Regions from separate parts of the Homo sapiens genome. Here regions 2, 3, 4, 5, 6 and 7 are each linked to region 1. Evidence: promoter capture Hi-C in 16 types of primary human blood cells and fetal thymus (Javierre and others, 2016). All regions are on one chromosome and are shown on one strand. The core of a region is centred on a gene start or on the middle of the fragment in contact, and the rest is flanking DNA. Distances in the headings are between cores, read along the strand shown. Region 1 holds the start of TBCK (TBC1 domain containing kinase). Region 2 overlaps ELOVL6 (ELOVL fatty acid elongase 6). Region 3 overlaps GAR1 (GAR1 ribonucleoprotein). Region 4 holds the start of CASP6 (caspase 6). Region 5 overlaps MCUB (mitochondrial calcium uniporter dominant negative subunit beta). Region 6 overlaps SEC24B (SEC24 homolog B, COPII component). Region 7 has its middle 5.7 kb from the start of SEC24B.

Region 1 (3,463 bases), core at 515-3,014:
GGGCTATCTCAAGAAGTCAACAAAAAGAATTAACAGTTTAACTTATTATTTAACCTACAGACCTAAAATTAGAAAAGGTTAAAAGTGGTTATCTTTGAAGAACAGTACTGAGAGTAGGACAGGTGAGACAGTTGCACTTTATTATTCAATCCTACTACGCTATACTACTTGATTTTTTTTTTTTTTTTTTTTTTTTTTGAGACAGAGTCTCACTCTGTCATCAAGGCTGGAGTGCAGTGGCATGATCTCGGCTCACTGCATCCTTCCACCTCCCGGGTTCAAGCGATTCTGTGCCTCAGCCTCCAGAGTGGCTGGGATTACAGGCGCCCGCCACCACGCCCGGCTAATTTTTGTATTTTTAGTAGAGACGGGGTTTCACCATCCTGGCCAGGCTGGTCTTGAACTCCTGACCTCAGGTGATCCACCCGCCTCGACCTCCCAAAGTGCTAGGACTACAGGCGTGAGCCACCGCGCCCGACCATTTTATTTTCAATCAGATGTCTTTATCATCACATAGCTGAAAATAAAATAACCAAATAAAACACAATGATCGAAAAAGATAAAACACTAATTAGCATAATCAGTGTTCTTTTTCCACTACCTCTTAAATGGTTGTACATAAAAAGGCTCACACACAAAAATACACACACATACATTCACTTACACCTCGTGAGTGGAAGAAAACTACCGGGGGAAAAAAAACGTAGAGATGAGAGATTAGATGAGGGAAACAGCAGTGCAAGCAGTTGGGCTTGAAAATTCATTCATTCAACAAATATTTTGAAGCCCCTATTTTAAGTCAGTTGTTTTTCCAGCTGGTGGGCAAAGGATAATGAACAAGTCAGACTCTGTGCCCTCAAAGAACTTAGAGTTTTAAACGACTCGAATGGGGAAAGAAAGTAAAAAATAGGGCAAAAGACGCCGATTTTATCATGAATAAAATTTCACATTTCTTCAACAGGAAAATGATACTAATTCATTTATTTTATATATACATTCTCTCAAGAGGTTATTTTTGTCTCAAATAGATAGAAACCAGGACAGGGATCCTTGAAAAGCAGCCACTGACAATCCTCAAGTAACTTCCTTCCTCTGCTTCACTTTCTCCTACTGCTCAAGGGGGTGTTACACTTTGACGACTGACTAAACCTCGAGGGCCAGAAACAAACCAAAGCAAAATTCTGCCTCCAAGGTGAGTAATGGAGGGGCGGATTCTAGATTCTCTAACCTCCTTTAGCCTTCCTTTGAGGCAGTGACAGAGCGATTACTAAGCCTACGGTTCCCAAACGACTCAGGTGAACCTGATTTACAGGAAAGGCGGGCTGTAGCTAGGGATGGAGACAGTACCTATCAGCAAGCGGCTCCACAGCTCGGTTCTCTATCTATTCTGAAGACATGCGGGGCCACTCACTGCTCCTGATAGTCCTCTACCTCCCACAGACCCCACCCACTACGACACGGAAAACTGGATTACCCAAATACCTGCCTCTGAGTCTGGGGACGCAGGCAAGCACAAAGACAAGGGGGATGGAGCTTCTACACAGGGCCCCAGCGCTGTCGCTGTGGCTGCTGCTGCCGCTACGGCTTAGTGCACCAGACGCTGCATTTCAGGTGCTCCTACAAAAGAGGCCACTCCTGGAACGCCGGGAGCTCAGACGCTGCCCTTTGCTCGCGAGCCAAGTCAGCCAAGGTTAACCTTCGCGGAACCCGGCGAGGAGCGCAAGCCTGGCCTTCCCCAAACACAGATCCGAGCTTTTCACCCTCTACCCTCCCCTCAGCCTGGCCTTTTCTTCCGCCCTCACAGCCACCGCGACCCAACGCTGAGGAAAGACCCCGACTTGTGGTGTCCTTCCCCTTGCCCAAACTGGCCACGAAAGGACATATAGCGAGAGAGAAAGAGGTGCGGGGGGACGGGGGGGGTCGATTGAAAATACTGGGTGAGGGAATGGAAGACGAGGAGCGTGGTATGGCAGGTTAATGGGACTGAGCACAGGAAGAGGAAGAAAGAATTGAGGGTTGAATCTGTAGAACACTCAGGCTTTCAGCAAGGACACCTCATTGGGTCCTTTCTCACTGCTATAGTACGCGGGTGGCTGGACCTACATGCTTCCTGCTGTGGCTGTCTCGGAACCCGTGGTCCTCCGCTTCATGTGAGTGACGTCGTGGCGGGTCACTCACTCGGGGATCGCCGATTGCGATCGTAGGGGTCTTCCTTCTCTAACTTGCCTCCAGGAGAGAGGACCTGGCCTGCGCTGCTAATGGGTAGTCCGTTCGCAGCAGGACCAGCCCTGGCCTAAGGAAACAGGAAAGAGTTTGAGACTTCCTTCTAAAGGAGCCACGTTTGAGAAATGGGATGCAGGCCTAAGTTAAGAATGCTACAGAAAAATATCGATCCCTAAGCGTATTTACTGTTATGTGAATGTGTGTGTCAAAGGACTTAGGTGCTTTGGGGGAGAGGAGGGTGAAGACAGGAATTTATTCATTGAGCGAATAGTTATTAAGCGCCCACTCTATTCCAGACACCGTTCTAGGCATTAGGTGAACAGCAGTGAACAAAACAGACGGAAATCTGTGTCTACTTGTAGCTCACATTTTAGAGAGGAAGGCACATACTAAGCAAAGTAATTAGAAACATACTGTATTTTAGGTCGTGATAGTCCTGAAGAGAAACGTAAAGCAGGGAAGAAGGGTATAAAGTGACACAGGAAGGTCTTGCTGAAAAGATGACTTTTAAGTAAAGGGCTGACAGAAGTGGGAGATTTAACCACGCGAATATCTTGGGAAAGTGCAGTCAGACAGAGGGACCAGCCATTGCAGAGGTCATGAAGCAGAAACGTGCTAGAATAGCAAGGAGGCCTGTAGGGCAGAGTTGAGTGAAGGGTTTAGTCCTTCACTGGAGATTAAATCAAGGCGAGCAGGTCATGAAGATCTTGAGGACATCTAACTTTTATTCTAAATGAAATAGGACTTTGGAGCGTTTTGAGCAGTAGAGTGATGGGCTCTGACTTCCTTTTAAGAGGGTCACTCTTTAAGGAAAATACACAGAGGAGGACGTGGTAGGAGAAAGGAGACCAATAAGAAGAGTTTTGCAATAATCCAGAGGAAGCATAATGGTGGTTTGACTATGGGTGGTAAGAAATGGCCAGTTATATTCTTGATGCACTTAATTTGGATATGTAAGAGTATTATAGATGACAGGGTTAATTTTATTTAATTAGGCTTTGGAGGACACTTGAAAAATGAATTCCAGTGTGAGTTTCAGAGTGGCAAACACAAGTTAAAATCATGGCTTTGCTATGTGGTACTTGAAGGGATTCAGATAAGTCATGTAATTTTCCTGGATCTGTCTATAAAATGGAAATCACATCTGTCAAGATTGCAAAGGTTAGGGTATATTATAGGTATTTAATGACAAGGTATGTAATGGGTCTAGTCTGCAAATCTTAACCAGGTAAAAGATGGC
Region 2 (3,463 bases), core at 554-3,053, 3.9 Mb after region 1:
AATCATAAAATATTTTGCATTAAGCTGGCTTTCATCCTTTGGAATCCTAAACAAGAATTGCATGAATATTTATAATTTATTAAAAGATACATGAAAGTTCATATCAAAGCTCCAGCACAACTTTACATTATTTTCTAGGACCCCACACAGATTACACGTTTTTTCTCTATGTATTTTCTCATTCTTCTCACTCTTAACCTAGTACATATGCCTACATCCCAGTGCTTTCTAAAAATTATTGAATGTCATGTTATGATCCTCACACAAGTTTTAATCCTAAATCAATATGAACTGTGATACCTCAAAATAAACAGCAAGTGACATGAGTACAATATAGACACACTATATTCCTACAGAGCTGACCAAATTTGTTGCTGCAATGTTAATGATGAAATGAAACTCTGGCCTACTCTGTTCCATAGTCACAGATGCACTGTTTTCCAGCCATTTTTCTTACAAATGAATGTAGAAGGTTGCAAGGAAGACTTCAGGAAGCAATTCAAAGCAATCCTCACTAAATGAAAAACAACAGCCAAATACTATGTCTGCATTTGAACAGTTTCATTAACATTATGCTGCTATATTTTTTATGCTGCTATATTTGAGTTAAATGCTAACACAGGTTTTTAGTGCTTTTTATGTTCTTTAATCATGAAATTGTACATCGTGTTACTTTCCAAACTTCACCTACAAAAAAGATATAGATGTACAACTCCTTTTAAAATGTTTCACGGCCGGTTGCAGTGGCTCAAGCCTGTTATCTCAGCACTTTCGGAGGCCGAGGTGGGCGGATTACTTGAGGTCAGGAGTTCAAGACCAACCTGACCAACACGGTGAATTCCCATCTCTACTAAAAATACAAAAATTAGCTTGGTGTCATGGCAGGCACCTGTAATCCCAGCTGCTTGGGAGGTTGAGACATAAGAATCACTGGAACCCGGAGGCAGAGGTTGCAGTGAGCCAAGATTGTGCCACTGCACTCCAGCCTGGGCAACAGAGTGAGACCCTGTCTCAAAAATAAAACAAAATAAAATAAAATGTTTCACTCCATTTTTACCTTTGGTAAAAACAAATTTGTGAATAAAAAGGCTTCCTCAGCTGAACAGCATTTAATTCTTAAAATTCCTATACTATCTTATAGACTCTATAATACAGAATACAAAATGTTAAAACAAGTAAACCCTTTTACACCACCAAGGGAGTGAGTGGGGAGAAAAGTCAGAAAAATATATAAAGCTTTGAAAGGCTGGATGTGTGGAGAATGCCAGGAGAGGGGGAGGGTTTCATGAAGTTCTAGGCAAGCCCTTTGAAGACGTCACCTCACATACATAATGTTACAGCAGTCAGCACAGGCCTCCTGCTTTCCTATTGGTGGGCACCGTGTCAGCCGACATCAGAAGATAATCATCATTGGCTAGACAATTACAACTGGAGCAACTAGCATCCACTGCTGTTAGCACAAACCTGGCAGGCTGCTGAAAGAGAAGGCAGAGAGAGCCCAGCTTCCCTTCTCACTCAATGAATTATATGTCGCCTTAGCAATCACCAGGTGATTTTGCTCCCTGGCTAGCAGCACTTCCAACTTAAGTCAGCTCTTAGTGAGAAAAACAGGTAAAGGCCAGACATCTCATAAAAGAGCAAAATGTCTCTATTTTCAATGTTGTAAAATTGCAAGGACTTTTCAGTGAAAATTAGAATTCAAAACTCCTATTTGGACCTATGAGCAGACATTTTTCTCTACCTCATGTAATAAACTCTCATTGACCAGATAATATAACCAGACAGGATATTTTTCACTGGACATGTAGTTTCAAGATGAGGCCCAGGATGATTCTACAAGGGAATACACTTATTACTTTGCATTTCAATTGCTATTCTAACCTATTATATATGAAACTTTTTGCTAGCAAAGTAAAAAAAGTCTGCAGTATTTACTTTCATGGCTAGGCCAATGAGTATGAGGTTAATGATTCATTAAAGCAGCAATAAACTTGAAAACTAGCCTCAGTTGAACCCTTTAGGGTTTATACAAATGCTACTCCAAAAGTCGGGCCCCATTCCATTAACACGTGCTATGGTTAGTAAGTATGGATTATAGGGTATGTTAACATTAATTTGCGCTATGGTTAGTAAGTATGGATTATAGCGTATGTTTAATAAAGTATTCTTATTTTAGGTCCTCTTAAATGATGCTAGTTAGCAAAGGCAGCATACTGGCAAAATACTACTCCTGGCCATTCTCACAGTTCTTCAAAAGCCAATGTAGTTCACTTTTGAGAGAGGATGTTTTAATTCTCTAAATTAACAAGTTTTGCCTGTTACTAAGAAGAGATTTATAAGGACAACCATAAATTCCCAAAAGACAGAGTAGAAGCTTCACTATATCATGTTTTTCCTCCAGAAGCTATTTCAAACCATTTTAAGTTAATGAGTCTGAAAAAGGTAAGATTTTATGGTTTCCTCAAGTTCCTCTCTCCTCAAGAGGGTCTAAGCCTTGGTTATGGAGTTCCCTTCTCCTATTAAAAAGGGAGTGAAAAGAAAATCTGGTTCAAGACTTTTTGTCCTGCATTAGCTGGATTCTATTAAAAATAAAAACTAAAAGCTTTAATTTGAACCTCCCGGGTTCAAGCAATTCTCCTGCCTCAACCTCCCGAGTAGCTGGGATTACAGGCACCCGCCACCACGCTCGGCTAATTTTTTTGTATTTTTAGTAGAGATGGGGTTTCACCATATTGGCCTGGCTGGTCTCGAACTCCTGTCGTCAGGTAATCCACCCACCTCAGCCTCCCAAAGTGCTGGGATTACAGGCAGGAGCCACCACACCCGGCTAATAAAATTAAATTTTAAAAAGTGTTTAAAGTCTTTTTGGCTGTACAGTTTTTGGGGAGGGAGGAGAGATAAAATTGGGCACCCTGGGATATTGGGAGAAATGCACAAAATCTGGCATTTAAAAAAAAACATGAAAGTAAGACAATTAGGGTCAGGAAGAGTTGCAAGGGAGGGGTAACAGCCAGCAGGGTTCTTTGACTGCAATAAGCAATCTAAGAACATAACATCAACAGAGAGCAGAAGCCAGGAAGGGAAAAATCCCAAGATGTGACTCTGCCACGGTATGCAAGTTCTAGCCTGTTAACCTTCGGGTATTAACGAGTAGTGCTGGCAATAAAATGGGCACCAATCACCATTTCAACTCACTGGACATTTTCTCAAGAATGTGCCTTATGCAAAGCACTCTGCTAGGTGCTTTGCAGAATCAAGAGTGGGATGACAAGAACCGTAACCTGAAGAGCTGATGGTCTGTAAGTTAATAACCATGTATATAACAGTAAAGGATATTGCCAGAAGAAAGGTACAGATAAAGAACTAGGAGGAAACAGTGGTCAGAACCTAACAGGAGTAGATACGTTGGCACATTTTTGTCATTTTCAGTCCCACGAGGGCTGAGACCTGTCTGGCTCAGTAC
Region 3 (3,463 bases), core at 351-2,850, 3.5 Mb after region 1:
GGGAATGGAAGTCACAGAAAGTGAAACTTACTACATTAAAGAGGAGAGAGGGTGAGTAGTGTCTAACTAAGAATGGCTTGGATGAGTATGCAGGATGGTTTGAAAGGAGCAGTTTCTAGAATAAAAGGTCCCAGCCCACAAGCTGTTGTACCAGTCCATACATGAGACCTTGAGAGCCTGAATCAGGATGGTGACAGTGAGGAAAAAAAAGGAAGGGTTAGATAGGAGAGAGATTTCAAAGGAAACAAAATCGGTAGAACTTAGCTAATGCTGATAATAAAGGGTTCCAGGTTTTGAGCTTGGGTGATAGGAATGAAGACTTGGTTTTGCAGGAATGTGGTATTTTAGTTTGGGGTGACAGTCTAGTTAGAAATAAAGGTAGTTATTTTGAGATTCCAGATGTCCTTGAAAACAATGAATCATTGTTAAAGAGGTGGTAGTGGGAATGGAAAAGTTCTAAGGCAAGAGAAAAAAAAAAAGAATGAAGGCTGATTCTGTTAGGCATTGAAGAAAAGGGAGAACCAAGAGAATGAAGCAGAGTTTTGAATCAGATAATAAGTTGTAATAACATAACTGTTACAGGTTGAATGGTGTCAGTGTGCCAGGCACTGTTCTAAGCACTTGACATTTGTTATTCCATTGAGTGCTTACATTACTGTATATTAGGTATAGCTATACATTATATGTTATTAGTGCATACTAAAAATGAGACACTGAATTAGAGAGAGGGTGGGTAACTTCTCCTAGGTCAAATAGCTAGTGTGTTGTGGAGTTGGTATACCAGCCCAGGAAGTCCTAAGACTGTGGTCTTCTGCCTCAGAGGAGAGCAGTTATGGTGAAGTCCCAGGTAGCCAAAAAGAAAGCTTCCAGAAGCAGTTGGTCAGTATCGTTTGAAATAGTTCTATGTTTTAACATTTTCTTGTCCTGTTTCAGTATTAGGAGAGTTCCTGCATCCCTGTGAAGATGACATAGTTTGTAAATGTACCACAGATGAAAATAAGGTGCCTTATTTCAATGCTCCTGTTTACTTAGAAAACAAAGAACAAATTGGAAAAGTGGATGAAATATTTGGACAACTCAGAGATTTTGTATCCTTTTTCATTGGAAGGCCTGATAATATTCAAAGGTTGCTATTTGCATTTTTCTGAGGAGGCAGTTAAGTATAAATTAAAGTTGTTGCTTCATTAAATTAGACAGGATTGCTACAGATTGGACCATGAAGGAGAATCAAGGGGAGAATGTATTCATCCATAGATATTAAAATGACAGACCCTAGAACGGTGACTTTTTTTTTGGAAAATTCTATTAATGATGGCCATTTGGATAAGTACTACAGGATTAAGTTGGCTGATTTGGATGTAGTGGTGCCACTGGAAATGTAGAATTAGAAGTTGTTTGGTGCCCCCACTACTCTGGAAACTCCTTCCTTCCTTTCTCTCTCTCTCTTTTTCTCTTTCTCTCTTTCTTTCTTTCTCTCTCTTTCTCTCTCTCTTTCTTTCTCTCTCTTGCTCTTTCCCTGCCTTCTTCCCTCCCTCCCTTCCTCCCTTCCTTCCTTTCTTTTTTCCTTTTTTTTTTTTTTTTTGACAGAGACTCACTCTGTTGCCCAGGGTGGAGTGCAGTGGCACGATCTCATCTCACTACAACCTCCGCCTCCTGGGTTCGAGCAATTCTCGTGCCTCAGCCTTTCAAGTAGCTGAGATTACAGGTGAGCGCCACCATGCCCGGCTGATTTTTGTATTTTTGGTGGAGGTGGGGTTTCACCATGTTGGCCAGGATGGTCTCAAACTCCTGGCCTCAAGTGATCCATCCGCCTTGGCCCCCCGAAGTGCTGGGTTTGCAGGTGTGAGCCACCACGCCCAGCCCCTGGAAATTCATTTCTTATCTTTCCTATATATATCCATACATTCTAACCTTGTTTTTGAAATTATACATGAATTCAGAACATTTGATATCATCTTTCATCTTAATTGCTCATTTGTTCCTTAATGAAAATAATAGTATTTTTCAGTTAAGTTGTCAGAAAACATGAAGGCTTCATCCTTTAAAAAACTACAGAAGGTGAGTCAAACTTATGATACTTGGGATCCTTGGTTTTATAAGGGAACGACCTATCTTAGGAAAGTCCTACTTGGAGCACTTGAGACTTTCCCAACATATCACTAGTAAAGCTCTTAAATTGAAATGTTCCATGCTATAAATATTGAACACACTAATCTTTAAAAGTGATTTATTTGATACAGCCTTTAGAAAGTAAAAATTACAACTTTTGCTCATATTACCAAAATCTGTAAACTGCTAGAGTAAGAGTTTTTTGTTTATGTAAAACTCTCTTATTGAAAAGCTTTCATGACCAAACATTCTAGGTAGAATCTTAATTTGTAAAACTTACGTTATTTGAGAGGCGGTAGGTACTAAGTGATTTCACAAGAACTTCAATAACATGATATATGCTATGAAGGAAAAATACAGGTTGCCATGAGAAGCTTTGTAGTGCCACCAGCTTTTTAAGTCTGTAGTGTTTCCTGAAAAAGTGAGCTTGAAGCTGAGGCCTGATTGTTGACTAACAGTGATTTCCACACCTGGTTGCATGTCAGAGTTATCTTGGGGAGCTTTTAAGAAGATGTATCTCTAGTTTCCACTTCTGGAAATTTGACCTAGGAGCTCTTAAGTAGCGTCCAGGATTCAATTTTAAAAAGGAAAAGCACTTGGATAATTTTGATGTAGTTAGTCAAACACTTGAGAGCTGCTGAGCTAGTCAAAGAGGAAGAGGAAAGTGCATTCCAAGTAGAGAAAACAGTATGTGCAGTCTCTGAGAGCAGGCAACTGAAAGGATACAAAAAGGCAGACATATAGGTTAGGAATGAAACATTTAGGAGAGGTGGGGAAAGTTGTGAATTAAGACCAGAGAGGTAGGAGGGGGCTTGATTAACTTAAGCCTTCAGGTGACAGGAAAGAGTTTAGACCTTAGTTTCAATTGTGTTTTATTTTTGAATAATGGGATAACACAGTTAAATGAATGCTTCAAAAGAATACTGGGAAGATAAAAAGGCACCTTGGGAAGCGGTCAATATTGTGTGAGAGGGGCCAGATAGGAGGCTATAATAGTAGTTCTAAAAGAGATGGTATTTTGGACTCGGTAGTGACAGTGGAAATGGAAAAAATGGATTTATGAAAGATACAGGAAGTAGAATCAATAGGACTTGGTAATTGACTAGCTATTGAAATTGAAGAAGTAAAAAAATCACCATCTTTCAGATGTCTGACATCAACATCTTTGTGGGTGATGGTACCAATTAATGAAATGGGCAACAATGCAGAGGAGGGGGATTGGGGGAAGATAATGAGTTGGGTTTTGGACATAGTGAGGTTGAGGTACTTGTGAGACAGTCATGGTCAGTTTAAAGGAAGAGTCTAGACTGGAAATAGAATTGGGAATTTGTTAAGTATACAGACAGTACATGAA
Region 4 (3,463 bases), core at 310-2,809, 3.4 Mb after region 1:
AGGCCCATCCCCACGCAGCCCCTCCCACCCGAGACCGGCTACCTTTCTAAACTTTGTTCAACTTCCCAAACGACTTCGGTCATTCTACTGTCATCGTCTTCATTCACTGCACTCTCTATGAAAATCTACCCATCGGCTCCATCAACAATGTATTTAGTAACCCTATGTAGAGTAACCTCCATCAGGCCTAGAACATGCACTGGGGAGTGCGGTGGAGGAAGAAGAGGAAGGGAGCAGGTGAGTGAAGGAAAGCCCCGGCTTCCCGCCCCTAGAGACTGCAACTGGACCCTGCACTGTGCCTCCAGGACAAGGCTACCTATCTACCTCCTCTACGACCATGTGACTTTTACAGCTTGCCTCTGGAGCACCATTTCCTTTGTGCAGCAAAATATAAAGAGTTCTTAAACAAAGGCACTCTAACCAACTGCAGGCGTTTCGTTCTTTTTTTTTTTTTTTCTTCTTGATTCGAAGTCTCACTCTGTCGCCGAGGTTGGAGTGCAGTGGGGCGATCTCGGCTCACTGCAACCTCCACCTCCAGGGTTCAAACGATTCTCTTGTCTCAGCCTCCCCAGTAGCTTGCGCCCAGGCCTGGCTAATTTTTTTGTATTTTTAGTAGAGACGGGGTTTCACCGTGTTAGTTAGGCTGGTCGAGAACTCCCGACCTCTGGTGATCCGCCCGCCTCGGCCTCCCAAAGTGTTGGGATTACAAGGCGTGAGCCACCACGGCCGGCCAACTGCAGGCGTTTCGACCTTTTTGTTTGTTTCACTCTGGCCAGGCTTGAAGTTTCTAAACTTTACCAGTAATAAGTGACAGAACGTACGCTCTTAGCAGTTGATTACTTTGCAGAAAAAAGTTATTGTGGTTTTGGCTCAAACCGACAGACAGCAGCAGGTTTCCTGGATGAAGAAGAGAGATACCGGGGTGTGCTGGCCGCCAGGAACTGGCCGCCTCCAGCTGAAGCCCGGGAGGACCCAGGGTCTTGGCCCGGGCACCCCGCGGGCCTGTTATGTTTTCATTATGACTCGGCGGAACAACCCCTCCTTTTCACTTTTCGAAGTGAGCAAACAAAAGATCCAACCCCCAACATTTCAAACGGCCAGGTGTGGGGGAACGCCAGGCCCGCGTGGGGACAGCCTTTTAAGGTTTAAACAGCCGGGGCGCCCCGAAAGCGCTCATCGCCCCGGAGGACAAAGGCGGCAGGGGCACGCCCCGGCGCCGGCGTCGCTACTCGGGACCGCCAGGAGGCGGCAGCCAGGTCCCCGAGTGTTTCTTAGACTGAAGCGCGAAACCGTCCCCACCCGCCCTGAGCGCTTCAATCCAAGAGTGCAACTTCTCCAGGCCGCCCTGCAAAGCCGAAGGAACCCGCGGCCCCACTCCGGTCCGCGCGCCCGGTCCACTAACCCTCGTTTCCCCTCCAGCCGGAGCAAGACGCAGACCTGCTCGGTGCCCAGTCGACGCCCCCTGCCTACCTGCCGGGTGCCCCCTGCGGAGCCCCGAGGCCGAGCTCATTGCAGCCAAACGCGCAGCCAGACACCTTGCCCTCCTCTTCCTGAAGCCACAGGCTCCCGGGCCCGGCCCCGCCCTCGGCCCTTCCTCGGCGGCCCCGCCCCCTGCCCCCGAGCGTGGGGCCAGTTGGTTCTGATTGCGCGCCGCCCGGGCTCCCGTGGATCGGGCTGGTCCTTCCCAGAGTTAAAGCTCCTCCCAGTCGCTCCGGAGCCCGCGGGGACCAAGAGCGCGGGGGCAGGGAGAGGTACGCGGTCTTCGCCTCCAGGCCCGCTGGGACTAACCGTGCCCTGGGGACATGCCAGTTGCCACCCGGGGGGACACACAGACCGCCTAGCCCGAGGCAATTTCACATCACTTGTGTGAGCTCGGACTCATTTAATCCCAGCTGCCCCAAACATTTGCTATTCCTTACTTTGCTATGCCTGTACTTTCTAGAGGTACAGGCATAGATTGTTTTATACCGCTTAGCAGATACTGCCTGTATTTCAACATTGGCTCGCTTTGTGTCTCTGTGTCACATTTTGGTACTCTCGCAATATTTCAAAATTTTTCATTGTTATTATGTCTGCTGTTGTGATCTGTGATCAGTAATCTTTAATATTATTGCAATTGTTTTGGGGCACCATGAACCGCGCTCATAAAGGAAGGGGAAATTAATCCATAAGCCCTGTATGTGTTTGGACTGTTCCACCGAACTTTCCCTTCTCTCTCCCCCTCCTGGGGCCTCCCTATTCCTGGAAACACAATTTTGAAATTAGGCCAACTAATAATCCTACAAAGGCCTCTAAGTGTCCAAATGAAAGGAAGAGCCTGTCACTTTAAATCAAAAGCAAACATGATTAAGTTAGTGAGGAAGTAATGTTGGTAGGCAGAAAGCTAGGCTTCTTGCTCCAGTTAGCCAAGTTGTGAGTGCAAAGGAGAAAAGCCAAGTCATGAATGCAAAGGAAAAAATTTTGAAGGAAATTAAAAATGCTACTCCAGTAAACACACAAAAGACAATAAAGCTAAACAGCCTTATTGCTGATATGGAGAAAGTTCTAGTTGGTCTGGATAGAAGATAAAAACAGCCACAACATTCCCTTAAGCCAAAGCCTAATCCAGAGCAAGGCCCTAACTCTTCAATTCTATGGAGGCTGAGAGAGGTGAGGGAATTGCAAAAGAAAAGCTGGAAGCTAGCAGAGAGGATGGTTCCTGAGGTTTAAGGAAAGAAACTATCTTCATGACATAAAAGTGCAAGGTGAAGCAGCAGGTGCTAACGTAGAAGCTGCATCAGGTTATCCAGATCTAGCTAAAATCATTGATAAAGGCAGCTACACTAAACAACAATCTTTTGTTTTTGAGACAGTCTTGCTTTGTCACCAAGGCTGGAGTACAGTGGTGCGATCTTTTGCAACCTCTGCCTCCTGGGTTCAAACGATTCTTCTGCCTCAGCCTCCCAAGTAACTGGGATTACAGGATGTGCCACCATGTCCAGGTTAATTTTGTATTTTTAGTAGAGACAGAGTTTCACCATGTTTGGCCAGGCTGGTCTTGAACTCCTGACCTTGAGCAATCTGCCCGCCTCGGTCTCCCAAAGTGCTGGGATTACAGGTGTGAGCCACCGTGCCCAGCCAAAACAACAGATCTTAAATGTATATGAAACGGCCTTCTATTGGAAGAAGATTCCATCTAAGACTTTCATAGCTAGAGAGAAGTCAATGCCTGTCTTCAAAGCTTCAAAGAACAGGCTGATGCTCTTGTTAGGGGCTAATACAACTGATGACTTTAAAGCCAACATTCCTTTACCATTCTGAAAATCCTAGTGCCCTTAAGAATTATGCTAAATATGATCTATAAATGGACCAACAAAGGCTAGTTAGTGACAGCACATCTATTTACAGCATGGCTTAGAGAATATTTAAAGCCCACTGTTGAGCTCTAGTGCTCAGAAGAAAGGTTCCTTTCAAAATATTACTC
Region 5 (3,463 bases), core at 539-3,038, 3.3 Mb after region 1:
CGGATTACACGCATGAGCCACTGCGTCCAGCTAGGACTCATTATACTTCTTAAATCTAAGGACTCATCCTGAGAATCCTTAGATTTGAGAAGTGGGGCCTGATTTGGGGAATCTGAACCCAGGTGTGGTATGGAGGAGCAGCCCGGCTAACTGGATTAAATGAAAAGCAACAGATTTGGTTCATACCATTTGTTTATTCAAAACTATCATATCCCCCTATCAAGGGGGGAATGGTAGGCTCCTCAAGATGGGTTTGAGGTGAGGTGTAAACTAAAAGGAAGACCTGAGTTTTGGTGAGTCATTCTTGAAATTCAGCTCTGCATGCATGATGGGTTTGTGTAAGATTTTCAGAATTTTAATAATAACCCTCTAAAAAGGGTTGTTACAGGGTATGGTAGTTTCTCTTTTAAGCTTTACTAACATGTCTGAGGATTGTCAATATTCTTGGGGTTTCTAAATAAAAACTTGTACAGGAGTGTCTTTGCTTTAAAAAATTTTTTATTTTCAATTTCCCAAGTAACCATAGTTTCCTACTGGCATGCAAAAAAGGTTTAATATTTGACCCCTTGTTATTAATCACTTATCTTTGTATATGGTAATTTTGGTGTTGTAAACCTATTGTTTTTGAATTATTAATTTTTTTTACCCTGGCCTACCAGTCTCTCAGAATTGTGTGATTTTGAAACAGTCTCAAACATAACATAAAGAAAGTTGTAACCACAGTGGGAAGACTATTTTGTTTCTGAACTATTTGAGAATACATTGCAAACTTGATGCCAGTTCCCCTGAAACATAAGAACATTCTCCAACTTAATGACAAACAACCATCAAAATAGGAAAATTAATGTTAGTACATAACCACCATCTAATTTTTAGACCTCATTAAAATCTTGCCAATTTTTCCAATAATGTTCTTTATTGGCAGAAGTTCAGAATCACAGTTTAATTTAGTTGTCATGTCTCCTCCACTCTGGATCAGTACAACATTCTTTGACATTCATGATTTGACTCTTTTAAAGATTACAATTATTTTGTAGAATGCCTCTGTTTGGGTTTGTCTGGTATTTCCTTGTGATTTGCTTCAGATTATATAGCATCTTTGTCGGGAATATCTCAAAAGTGTCCCATGTATTCTCATTGCATGATTTCAACTCACCCCATTACTGATAATATTAATTTTGATCAATTAAGATGGTATCTGTCAGGCTTCTTCCCTTTGAAGTTATTATTTTTCCTTTGGGATTAATGCTTTTGTGTGAAGGCATTTTAAAACTGTGTAAATATCTCATTCCTTATTAAACTTTAAATTTATTCAGTTAATTATGTCAGAATACACTCATGGTTTCCTATCTCCTTCAGTGGATTATAATTTGTTACTATCATTATTTAATGCTAAAAATTGTTCCAGATTTTACCACAGGGACACCCTTTGACCTGCCTTCTGGGTTCTTTTGATAAGTCTTCCATCATCCATTGAGCACTTCCTTGCTTTCTAGTACAGCAAGATGCTCTAGGTTCATTTTGTCCTTATCCATGCCCAGCCCTAGAATAGCCATTTCTCCAAGGAGGCTTGCTTCCTCTTAGGTAAGCATAGTATCTGGTGCCAAGAGCTAGATGCTAGATGTTATTAGAAGTGCCACTGCTCATAGGCTCTCTCAGAAAGAGAATATACATATACATATATATGTCAGTATGAAAACATAAATATGTAAAATTTAAAATTTCTATACTTACATACACACGTACATTAAACATTTGCATCTTTTAAAAATTTTATATTTAATTTCATTTAATTATATTTCTTTACATTATTACACATTAAAAACCATGAATTCACACCAGTACTTCAGTCTAACACTACAGGGTTTATTCTACTCCCTTTCCATAATTGTAGTTCCATTCTTGCACAGGATAAATCTGACTTCCATTATTCTTGATATATTTTTTTCTTCTGCATGTGACAGTCTTTCATCTCCACTACCACTCCTTCCCCTGCAGAGATGGCTTTCTTACCCCAACTGGGCTCCAACATTTTTTTCTGAGCCTATTTCCCATGTGGAGGCCGTCTTCATCCCATTTGGGCTATGACACCCACACTAATTGCGCCTCCACTGTTTAGAAACCTTCCTCGCCACCCTTCTGTAGGCCAAAAGTTAAAGTTCAAGGTGTTGGCTCAGTTGGTTTCTTCTGAAGCCTTCTTGGCTTGTACATGGCTGTTTTGTAAATGGCTGTCTTCTCCCTGTGTCCTCACACCGTCTTTCTTCTGGGTGTACATGTCTGTCCAAATCACCACTTCTTGTAAAGACACCAGTTATGTCGGATTAGGGCCTATACTAATGACCTCATTTTAACTTAACCTCTTTAAAGTACAGTCACATTCTGAGGTACTAGGGGTTAAGACTTCAATATATGAATTTGCAGGGGGTGGGGCACAGTTCAGCTCATAATAGTGTTCTATTCAGCTTCCACTTGAGTTTAGTTCTCTTCTTCCTGAAGAAGTTCTTTAGCAAAAATCTGTGGAAATAAGCCATAATCTTGATTATACCTGAAAAACTCATTTCTTTCAGCCTTGCTGTAATCTCTTTTGTGCTGCTGTAACAGAACCATAGACTGGGTAATTAATAATGAACAGAAATGTATTTAGTTCACAGTTCTGGAGGCTGGAAAATCCAAGATTGAGAGGTCGCATCTGGTCAGGTTCTTCTTGCTGCATTATCCCATGGCAGAAGGTGAAAGGGCAAGAGGCGGAGAGAGAAAGCTCAATCAAACCCGCAGCCTCAGGCCCTTTTATAATTGGCATCAATCCATTTATGAAGGTGGAGCCCTCATGACCTAAGCACCTCCCATTAGATCCCACCTCCCAGCACCGTTGCATTGGGCATTAGGTTTCCAACACATGGACTCTGGGGGACACAATCAAATCACAGCAAGCCTGAAGTAATTTTCCTGAGCATAATATTCTAGGTTGGTAATTATTTTCCTTAGCATCTTGAAAACATTCCTGCATTTATTTAACGTGTATTTACTGAGCCCCTATTATGTTTCAGGCGCCATTCTAGGTGCTGGGGATACAGCAGTGAACCAGACCAAGTCCCTGCCTGCTCCTGGGGAGTATGCACTCTAGTGGGAGGAAATGAAATGGCATTTGTACAAATTGTATGAACATAAGCTTTCATTTCTCTAGGGTAAAGAGCTAGGGGTGGGATTACTGGGTCACATATAAATGTATATTTAACTTTATAAAGAACGGTCAGGCTGGGTGTGGTGGCTCACGCCTGTAATCCCAGCACTTTGGGAGGCTGAGGCGGGCGGATCGCGAGGTTAGGAGTTCAAGACCAGCCTGACCAACCTGGTAGAAACCCCGTCTCTACTAAAAATACACAAAAAATTAGCCAGGCTTGGTGGCATGCACCCGTAATCCCAGCTAGTCAGGAGGCTGAGGCAGGAGAATCACTTGAACCTG
Region 6 (3,463 bases), core at 684-3,183, 3.1 Mb after region 1:
GATGTTTGTGTTCAGATAATGGAAACTGAAATCTGACTTTGATCTGACTGAAAAAAAAAGTTGGAATTCAATTCAGGAAAATATTAATGAAACAACTATTTTTAATATTAAAATGTGTCTCAGGGAGGGGGAATGATCATGCTATTATGGAAATCTCAGGAGTAGTCAAATTAGAGATGTGGTTTTTGTTTTCTCTCTTCATTTTTTTCTTTTTAAACAATAATTGTAGTATGGTGGAAATCATGACTGTTACAATCTTATTCAGGTAACTTGCTTTATTTTTGTGTTTTCCTGTATGTTTATATTACTCATTTATCAATTTTGCACATTTTTACTAGGTTTGGTAACCTTTTTATGTCAAATGTTTTTTTCCCTATAAAATGGCTGTATTGTAATATTAGAATAATCCAATGTTGATGCTTTATTTTCCTTGAAGTTTCTCCAACTTTATATTTATGGTAATATCTCTTAAGTGAGCTCTCAGTACCAGTTAGTCCTGTGGTATTTCCCTGCTCCATTCCCAGTGTCACATGCTCCCCTTTTCCCTCAAATTCTCAGTATCCTGTCTCTCTGCCTCCCTTTCCAATGGTGACCTTACTTATTTTACTAAGAAATTGAAAGCAATCTGACAATCTGAAGATAAAGTATTAATCTTCTGCCACCAAATCTGTCAGTCTTCCTGCATATTATTCTTGTGTTATCTGAGACAAATTCAGATTATTTGGGTACAGAATTCTGTTCCCTCTCTTTTAAGAACTTTGTCCCTCCGATTATCTCATTTACCATCAATTTTGATCTTAAACACCTGAACCTTATTTTATGCAATGCATATGTAATCCTAACAGTTATATATAACTTTTATTTTAGAGACGAGATCTCACTGTGTTGCCTGGGATGGTCTCAAACTCCTAGGCTCAAGTGACCCTCCAACCTCTGCCTCCCAGAGTGCTGGGATTACAGGCATGAACCACCATGCCTGGCCTATAAATTTAATTTACAATTCCTAGCAAATATTTATGTAGCTCCTCTTTACATAACATTTTGTGCTAGATACTCTGGGCATACAAATGTGAATGTTCTCTGCACTCCAGGAGTTCTGTACCCCTCAGTAAAAGAGGAGAGGACTGTCAGCACTGAACATGTGTTTCCTTCATAAGGCCTGTGAGAAGGGTGCCCAGAGTTTTGAAGAGGAAACAATTCTTTTTGGTTAAAGTAATAGGGAATCTTAAGGGAGGAAGTTAGAACTTCAGCTATATCTAAAATGATGGACACATTTTGAATTGTCAGGTAAAAATGCATGAATCAAAGGTAAGGAATTTAAAAAACGTACTCTGAGCAGTGCAGGGGTACAAGGGAGAGAGAGTAATGAAAGAATGGTTTGGGCCCGGTGTGGTGGCTCATGCCTGTAATCCCAGCACTTTGGGAGGCTGAGGTGGGTGGATCACCTGAGGTCAGGAGTTCGAGACCAGCCTGGCCAACGTGGTAAAAACCCATCTCTACTAAAAATACAAAACTAGCTGGGTGTAGTGGCGAGTGCATGTAATCCCAGCTATTTGGGAGGCTGTGGCTGGAGAATTGTTGGAACCCGGGAGGTGGAGGTTGCAGTGAACCGTGATCATGCCATCGCCTGGGCAACAAGAGCTAAACTCCATCTCAAAAAAAAAAAAAAAAAAGAATAGTTTTTACAATTATGTTGGGGCTGCTAATGGAAGTTCCTAGAAATTGTCCTAAGAAGTTTAGACTTCATTTGGATCAAAGAAGAGCCATTAAAGATTGTGTGGTAAGGAATGTTAAAAAGTACTCTGGTGGTGTTAGTAATGAATTAGAGGGAAGTGAAAGTAGAATAAAGGGAAGTCAGGTAGAGAATTTTTCAAACCAAATCGTATTTCATATGCCCTAAAGAGATCCTGTGATTTTTTTTTTTTTTTTTTTTTGGTACAGGGACTAGACTTGCATGAAATATTTGTTTTATAAATTTTAATTTTCATGTTAGGTTTTCTTAAAGCAAGAGAATCAGTTTTCCTTTGGTGAGAATCTGGTGTCTGAAAGGAGGTTATGCTACTGAGACAGATATGTCCTGGGGGTAGATCTTGTGATAATTTAGTCCTGCTAAGGAGGGCATACATGCTTATAGAAAATCATAGGCTGTATCTTGCTGGCACATGATATATCAGTCAGGCTGACCAGCTGAGCAGCTCCATTGAAAATATTATAGACCATTTGTTAAAAATATTTTATTTCTTCATTCAGATTGGTACCAGTGAGTAGATAATGTGTCAGAATCATCTGTTTCCCTCTTTTATTTGACATAGTTCACTTGAAGCTAAGAATATAAAATTCTTTCAGAGATTATATAAAAACTGAATTTTTTTGTTTTGTTTGTTTTTGTTTTGACACAGGGTCTCACTCTGTCACCCAAGCTGGAGCGATCACTGCTCACTGCAACCTCGATCTCCTGGGGTCAGGTGATCCTCCCACCTCAGCCTCTTGAGTAGCTGGGACTACAGGTGTGCGCCACTACACCTATCTAATTTTATGTAATTTTTGTAGAGATGGAGTTTCACTCTGTTGTCCAGGCTGGTCTTGAACTCCTGGACTCAAGCAGTCTGCTGCCTCAGCCTCCCAAAGTGCTGGGATTACAAGCACGTCTGGCCATTTTTTTAGTTTTTTCTTTCTTTCTTTGTTTTTTTTTTTTTTTTTTTGAGACGGAGTCTTGTTCTGTCGCCCAGACTGGAGTGCAGTGGTGCAATCTCGGCTCACTGCAAGCTCCGCCTCCCAGCTTCACACCATTCTCCTGCCTCAGCCTCCCAAGCAGCTGGGACAACAGGCGCCCGCCACCACGCCCAGCTAATTTTTTTTTTTTTTTTTTGGATTTTTAGTAGAGATGGTGTTTCACTGTGTTAGCCAGGATGGTCTCGATCTGACCTCGTGATCCGCCCGTCTCAGCCTCCCAAAGTGCTGGGATTACAGGCGTGAGCCACGGCACCCAGCCTGTTATTTTTATTATTTTATTTTATTTATTTTTTTGAGACAGGGTCTCACTCTGTCACCCAGGCTGGAGTGCAGTGGTGCAATCTTGGCTCACTGCGGCCTCAATCTCCTGGGCTGAAGCAAGCCTAGCACCTCAGCCTCCCAAGTTACTGGGACTACAGGCACAAACCACCACACCTGCGTAATTTTTTATTTCATGTTTGTAGAGATGAAGTCTTACTATGTTGCCTGGGCTGGTCTCAAACTCCTGGACTCAAGCAATCCCCCTGCCTCAGCCTCCCAAAGTGCTGGGATCACAGGTGTGAGCCACCGCACCCAGCCTGTTTTAGTTTTTCAGTGATTATTTGATGCTTATGTAAGGCATTGTATTGGGCAATTTGGGGAGTGCAATAATCAAATTAATTTATTCTAAGATGCTTTTTTTTTTTTTTTTTACATTTTTTACCTCTGAAATTGGGGTGCATTTTAGAAT
Region 7 (3,463 bases), core at 317-2,816, 3.1 Mb after region 1:
CCCGTCTCAAACGATCCTCCTGCTTTGGCCTCCCAAAGTCCTGGGATTATAGGCATGAGCCACCACACCTGCCCCTTCTACTCTGTTGTATTTAGAAGGAGAGAATCTTATGGGAGAAATTCCTGTTTTAACTTGTTTTAATCTATTACATAGAAACTGTCTACAGGACTATACTAGATTTCTACTTTTCGTTAGTGAAGAAGAAAGTTGTTATACGGAAAAATCTTTTAATTTTTTCATTTTTTTGAGACAGACTCTCACTCTGTCGCTGTGCTAGAGTGCAGTGGCACGATCTCTCCCTATGTTTTCTCCTATTAGTTTTATAGTTTCAGGTTTTTAAGTCTTTAGTCCATTTTGAGTTGATTTTTGTATATGGTGTACCACAAGCTTTGTAAACACCCTGCCATCATAGTGGTGCTCTGACTTATCAATATTCTTTTTTAAAAGTGTGTCCTTTCTAACTGAATTAGTATGTTCAACAATTTTATTTATTTATTTATTTATTTTTGAGACAGAGTCTCACTCTGCTGCCCAGGCTGGAGTGTGTAAGTGGCACAATTATGGCTCACTGCAGGCTTGACCTCCTAGGCCCAAGTGGTCCTCCTGCCTCAGCCTCCTGAGTAGCTAGGACCACAGGCACACGCCACCACACCTGGCTAATTTTTTAACTTTTTGTACAGACAAGGTCTCACTCTGTTGCCCAGGTTGGTCTCAAATTCCTGGGCTTAAGTGATCCTCCCACCTTGGCCTCCAAAACTGTTGGGATTACAGGTGTGAGCCACTGTGTCTGCCCCAACAACATTTTTTGTCTAGCTTTTTCTCTTTTAAAGAAACAGTTGTGTTTTACATTTTTCAGGTAATTGAAGTTTATCCTTTCAACTAGTAAAAAAAGTTTTAAAACCAATCCTTTGTAACACAGAAATACCCCTTCGTATGATCTTTTAACTTAGTTTTATACATAAAAATAAATCTAGGCTGGGCATGGTGGCTCACACCTGTAATCCCAGCACTTTGGGAGGCCAAGGCTGGAGGATTACTTGAGAGACCAACCTGGGCAACACAGCAAGACTTCACCTCTACTAAAAATTTTAAAAAATTAGCCCGGTGTGGTGGTGCACTCCTGTAATCCCAGCTGCTTGGGAGGCTAATGCAGGAGGGTCACTTGAGCCTAGGAGGTCAAGGCTGCAGTGAGCTGTAATTGCACCACTGCATTCTAGCCTGGGCAACAGAGTGAGACCCTGTCTCAAATGAATGAACGAATACATAAATCTACCTTCTAGAACCATAGTATAGTAACTTTGTCTCCTTCCAGCAGATGGCACTGAAGATTGTGCACAGTAATTTAGTAATTTTAGTCTAGGGCAGTGCTTCCCAGCCTCTTCATGTTATAACATAGCTAGAAAATAAGGATATTTTTGTTGGGTAAAAGACAAGGATGCTTGCAGCCAAAGGAGACTAGCCTGAGGATCACTTGAGTACCCCCTAGTTGTCCCAATGTCTGAAGAGGATTAATATCTTAATACATCTTTTAATGAATTGCACTCATTCAGTGTGCCCTGGTGTAGTGGTGCCCTGATGTAGGTCATCTTTTTATTAATTTGGGGCCTATTATGAGTTTATGTTTTAAAATGTGCTTTATAAATATTAATCCCAACATTGATGTCAGTGAGAAAGCAGTGAGAATTTTGAAGGTGGTAGTAAGAGTGATGTGAAGATTAAAAAAGCAGAGATTGAAAAATGAAAATTCATAGTAATAAATATACAATAAAGTGGTATGACCCAGTTGAAATTGGGAACAATTCTGAAAAGCAAAGAGTGACTCATGCCATATGAAAATGCCATTTGCTATGGACTGAATTCTGTACCTCCAAAATCCATATGTTGAAGCCCTAACCCCACATGTAACTATATTGAAGAGAGGGCCTTTAAGGAGGTGATTAAGGTTAAATGCAGTCGTAAAGGCAGAGCCTTGTCCAATAGAACTGGTGCCCTTATACCGAGACACCAGACAACTTTCTCTCTCCCCATCTCTGCCTGCCATGTATGGACCAGTGAGAAGGTGGCCATCTACAAGCCAGGAGGAGAACCTTTACCAGAACCTGATCATGCTGGCACTCTCATCTCAGACTTCCAGCTTCCAGAATTGTGGGAAAACACATTTCTGTTGTTTAAGCCACCTCGTTTAAGGTATTTTGTTATGGTGGCCAAAGCAGACTAATTCACCATTTTTATATAACAATAATCAGTAAGAAGAAAAGTAATTGACAAAATGTACACACTGTTGACCATGTGATGAGAGGATCAGTGTCAACTCTGGGCACCCATTAACCCATTAGGAGATGGTTCAAGTATCTTAAAGGCCTAAGAAAGTAAAGTTATGGAAAGCAAGAGCGCTAGGCACATTTTAATCTGTACAACATCAACATGAGTGGTAGCAGGTGTGAATATACGCCAGCTGCTAAGAAGTTCCTTTAGGCTCATTAAGGAGGGGCATTTCCTTCCTTAAGGGACTTCAAATGTAAATCCAACAAAAAATGCCCTTTGGAACCTTGCTACTCAAAGTGTGGTCCATGGATCAGCAGCATCAGCATCAGCATCACCTGGGAGCTTGCTAGAAATGCAGATTCTCAGGTCATTCTAACCCTACCCAATAAGCATCTTCATTTTAACGTGATCATCAAGAGATTCATATGCGCCTTAGTCTGGGTTGCACCACTATACAACTTATATCAGTAAAAAGAAGAGTAAGCTTTGTTCTAAAGTTTCAAAGGACTGCCTCACTTTTCTGTTTTCTGGAAATGCATATGTGGCTTACTCCGAACTTGTGAGTATTGGGACTTACGAACAATGGAAATTTTGGAACCTAACCTGTTCATATGTAAGAGTTTCTAAAGTTCCAAAATGGGTTCTGTATTCCTCTGGTCTTCTGAAACAGAGTACAGAACATAATTTAATTTTTCTTTGCAATTGAGGACCAAATCTATGAATATCTGTTTTGGTCCTGATATATGGTGATGTCATAAAGCGCTTTCAAGTTATAAAGCAGGTGTTCGGTATGTGACAGTTCCCTTCACTTTATTTCCTTCAGAATACTAGGTTATAAATTTCTCAGATGGCAGAGACTTGTGGACTATGTTTATCATATTTCCAGTGGAATACATAGGGTTGTTCAATGTAACTAATTGTGTCAGAATACCGTGCATTTTTAATTCATTTTTCTAATTGTCTTGTTTTTCCTGTGCTTATTCTGCCAACTAATAGAGATTGCTCCTCTCAAACTACCTATATTAACAGCATTTCCTTCCCTTGCCTTGTGATTCATAGTTTCTAATCTGCTGTGGACTAGTTAAGTGTCTAACTACAGAAATTACAGCATGTCTGAAACAACAGCCAAATAGTTTATGTGACAATCAGAGAATTTCCTGTAAGTGCATGCACTATTGTTCATGAGTTGACTATGTGG

What was found. Contacts are between HindIII fragments. The CHiCAGO score rates a contact against its expected background, and 5 or more counts as called.
Region 2: a contact is called between a fragment that was not itself captured here and the fragment with the promoter of TBCK in region 1, in 5 of 17 cell types (total CD4 T cells, naive CD8 T cells, fetal thymus and 2 more). The highest score is 11.4, in total CD4 T cells.
Region 3: a contact is called between a fragment that was not itself captured here and the fragment with the promoter of TBCK in region 1, in 3 of 17 cell types (total CD8 T cells, total CD4 T cells and naive CD8 T cells). The highest score is 9.5, in total CD8 T cells.
Region 4: the fragment with the promoter of CASP6 here is called in contact with the fragment with the promoter of TBCK in region 1 in 2 of 17 cell types (naive CD8 T cells and naive CD4 T cells); the score reaches 6.3 in naive CD8 T cells.
Region 5: a fragment that was not itself captured here is called in contact with the fragment with the promoter of TBCK in region 1 in 1 of 17 cell types (activated CD4 T cells); the score reaches 5.8 in activated CD4 T cells.
Region 6: a fragment that was not itself captured here is called in contact with the fragment with the promoter of TBCK in region 1 in 1 of 17 cell types (naive B cells); the score reaches 6.3 in naive B cells.
Region 7: a fragment that was not itself captured here is called in contact with the fragment with the promoter of TBCK in region 1 in 1 of 17 cell types (total CD8 T cells); the score reaches 5.4 in total CD8 T cells.

What each region holds. Positions count from the first base shown.
Region 1 is chr4:106,314,445-106,317,907 of GRCh38, forward strand. It overlaps TBCK (TBC1 domain containing kinase), which reads right to left and starts at 1,765. Exons shown (of 26, transcript NM_001163435.3): 1 at 1,487-1,765. It overlaps AIMP1 (aminoacyl tRNA synthetase complex interacting multifunctional protein 1), which reads left to right and starts at 2,106. Exons shown (of 7, transcript NM_001142416.2): 1 at 2,106-2,150. RefSeq lists enhancers at 1,345-1,434, 1,515-1,574, 2,065-2,314. The HindIII fragment of the contact is 5,300 bases long and covers 1-3,463 here.
Region 2 is chr4:110,192,591-110,196,053 of GRCh38, forward strand. All of the region lies in intron 1 of ELOVL6 (ELOVL fatty acid elongase 6), which reads right to left. Among named protein-coding and RNA genes, the nearest start is that of ELOVL6, 4.3 kb to the right of the region's middle. The HindIII fragment of the contact is 1,138 bases long and covers 1,235-2,372 here.
Region 3 is chr4:109,817,003-109,820,465 of GRCh38, forward strand. GAR1 (GAR1 ribonucleoprotein) reads left to right here. Exons shown (of 7, transcript NM_018983.4): 3 at 934-1,088; 4 at 1,999-2,058. Among named protein-coding and RNA genes, the nearest start is that of GAR1, 3.0 kb to the left of the region's middle. The HindIII fragment of the contact is 1,478 bases long and covers 862-2,339 here.
Region 4 is chr4:109,701,886-109,705,348 of GRCh38, forward strand. CASP6 (caspase 6) reads right to left here and starts at 1,560. Exons shown (of 7, transcript NM_001226.4): 1 at 1,471-1,560. The coding sequence starts at 1,510. RefSeq lists enhancers at 162-221, 982-1,041, 1,932-1,981 and silencers at 1,222-1,331, 1,482-1,771. The HindIII fragment of the contact is 4,197 bases long and covers 1-3,218 here.
Region 5 is chr4:109,649,842-109,653,304 of GRCh38, forward strand. The region is part of intron 1 of MCUB (mitochondrial calcium uniporter dominant negative subunit beta); the gene reads left to right. Among named protein-coding and RNA genes, the nearest start is that of CASP6, 52 kb to the right of the region's middle. The HindIII fragment of the contact is 2,758 bases long and covers 410-3,167 here.
Region 6 is chr4:109,442,560-109,446,022 of GRCh38, forward strand. The region is part of intron 1 of SEC24B (SEC24 homolog B, COPII component); the gene reads left to right. Among named protein-coding and RNA genes, the nearest start is that of SEC24B-AS1, 10 kb to the left of the region's middle. The HindIII fragment of the contact is 4,493 bases long and covers 1-3,463 here.
Region 7 is chr4:109,426,390-109,429,852 of GRCh38, forward strand. No RefSeq gene overlaps it. Among named protein-coding and RNA genes, the nearest start is that of SEC24B, 5.7 kb to the right of the region's middle. The HindIII fragment of the contact is 2,362 bases long and covers 386-2,747 here.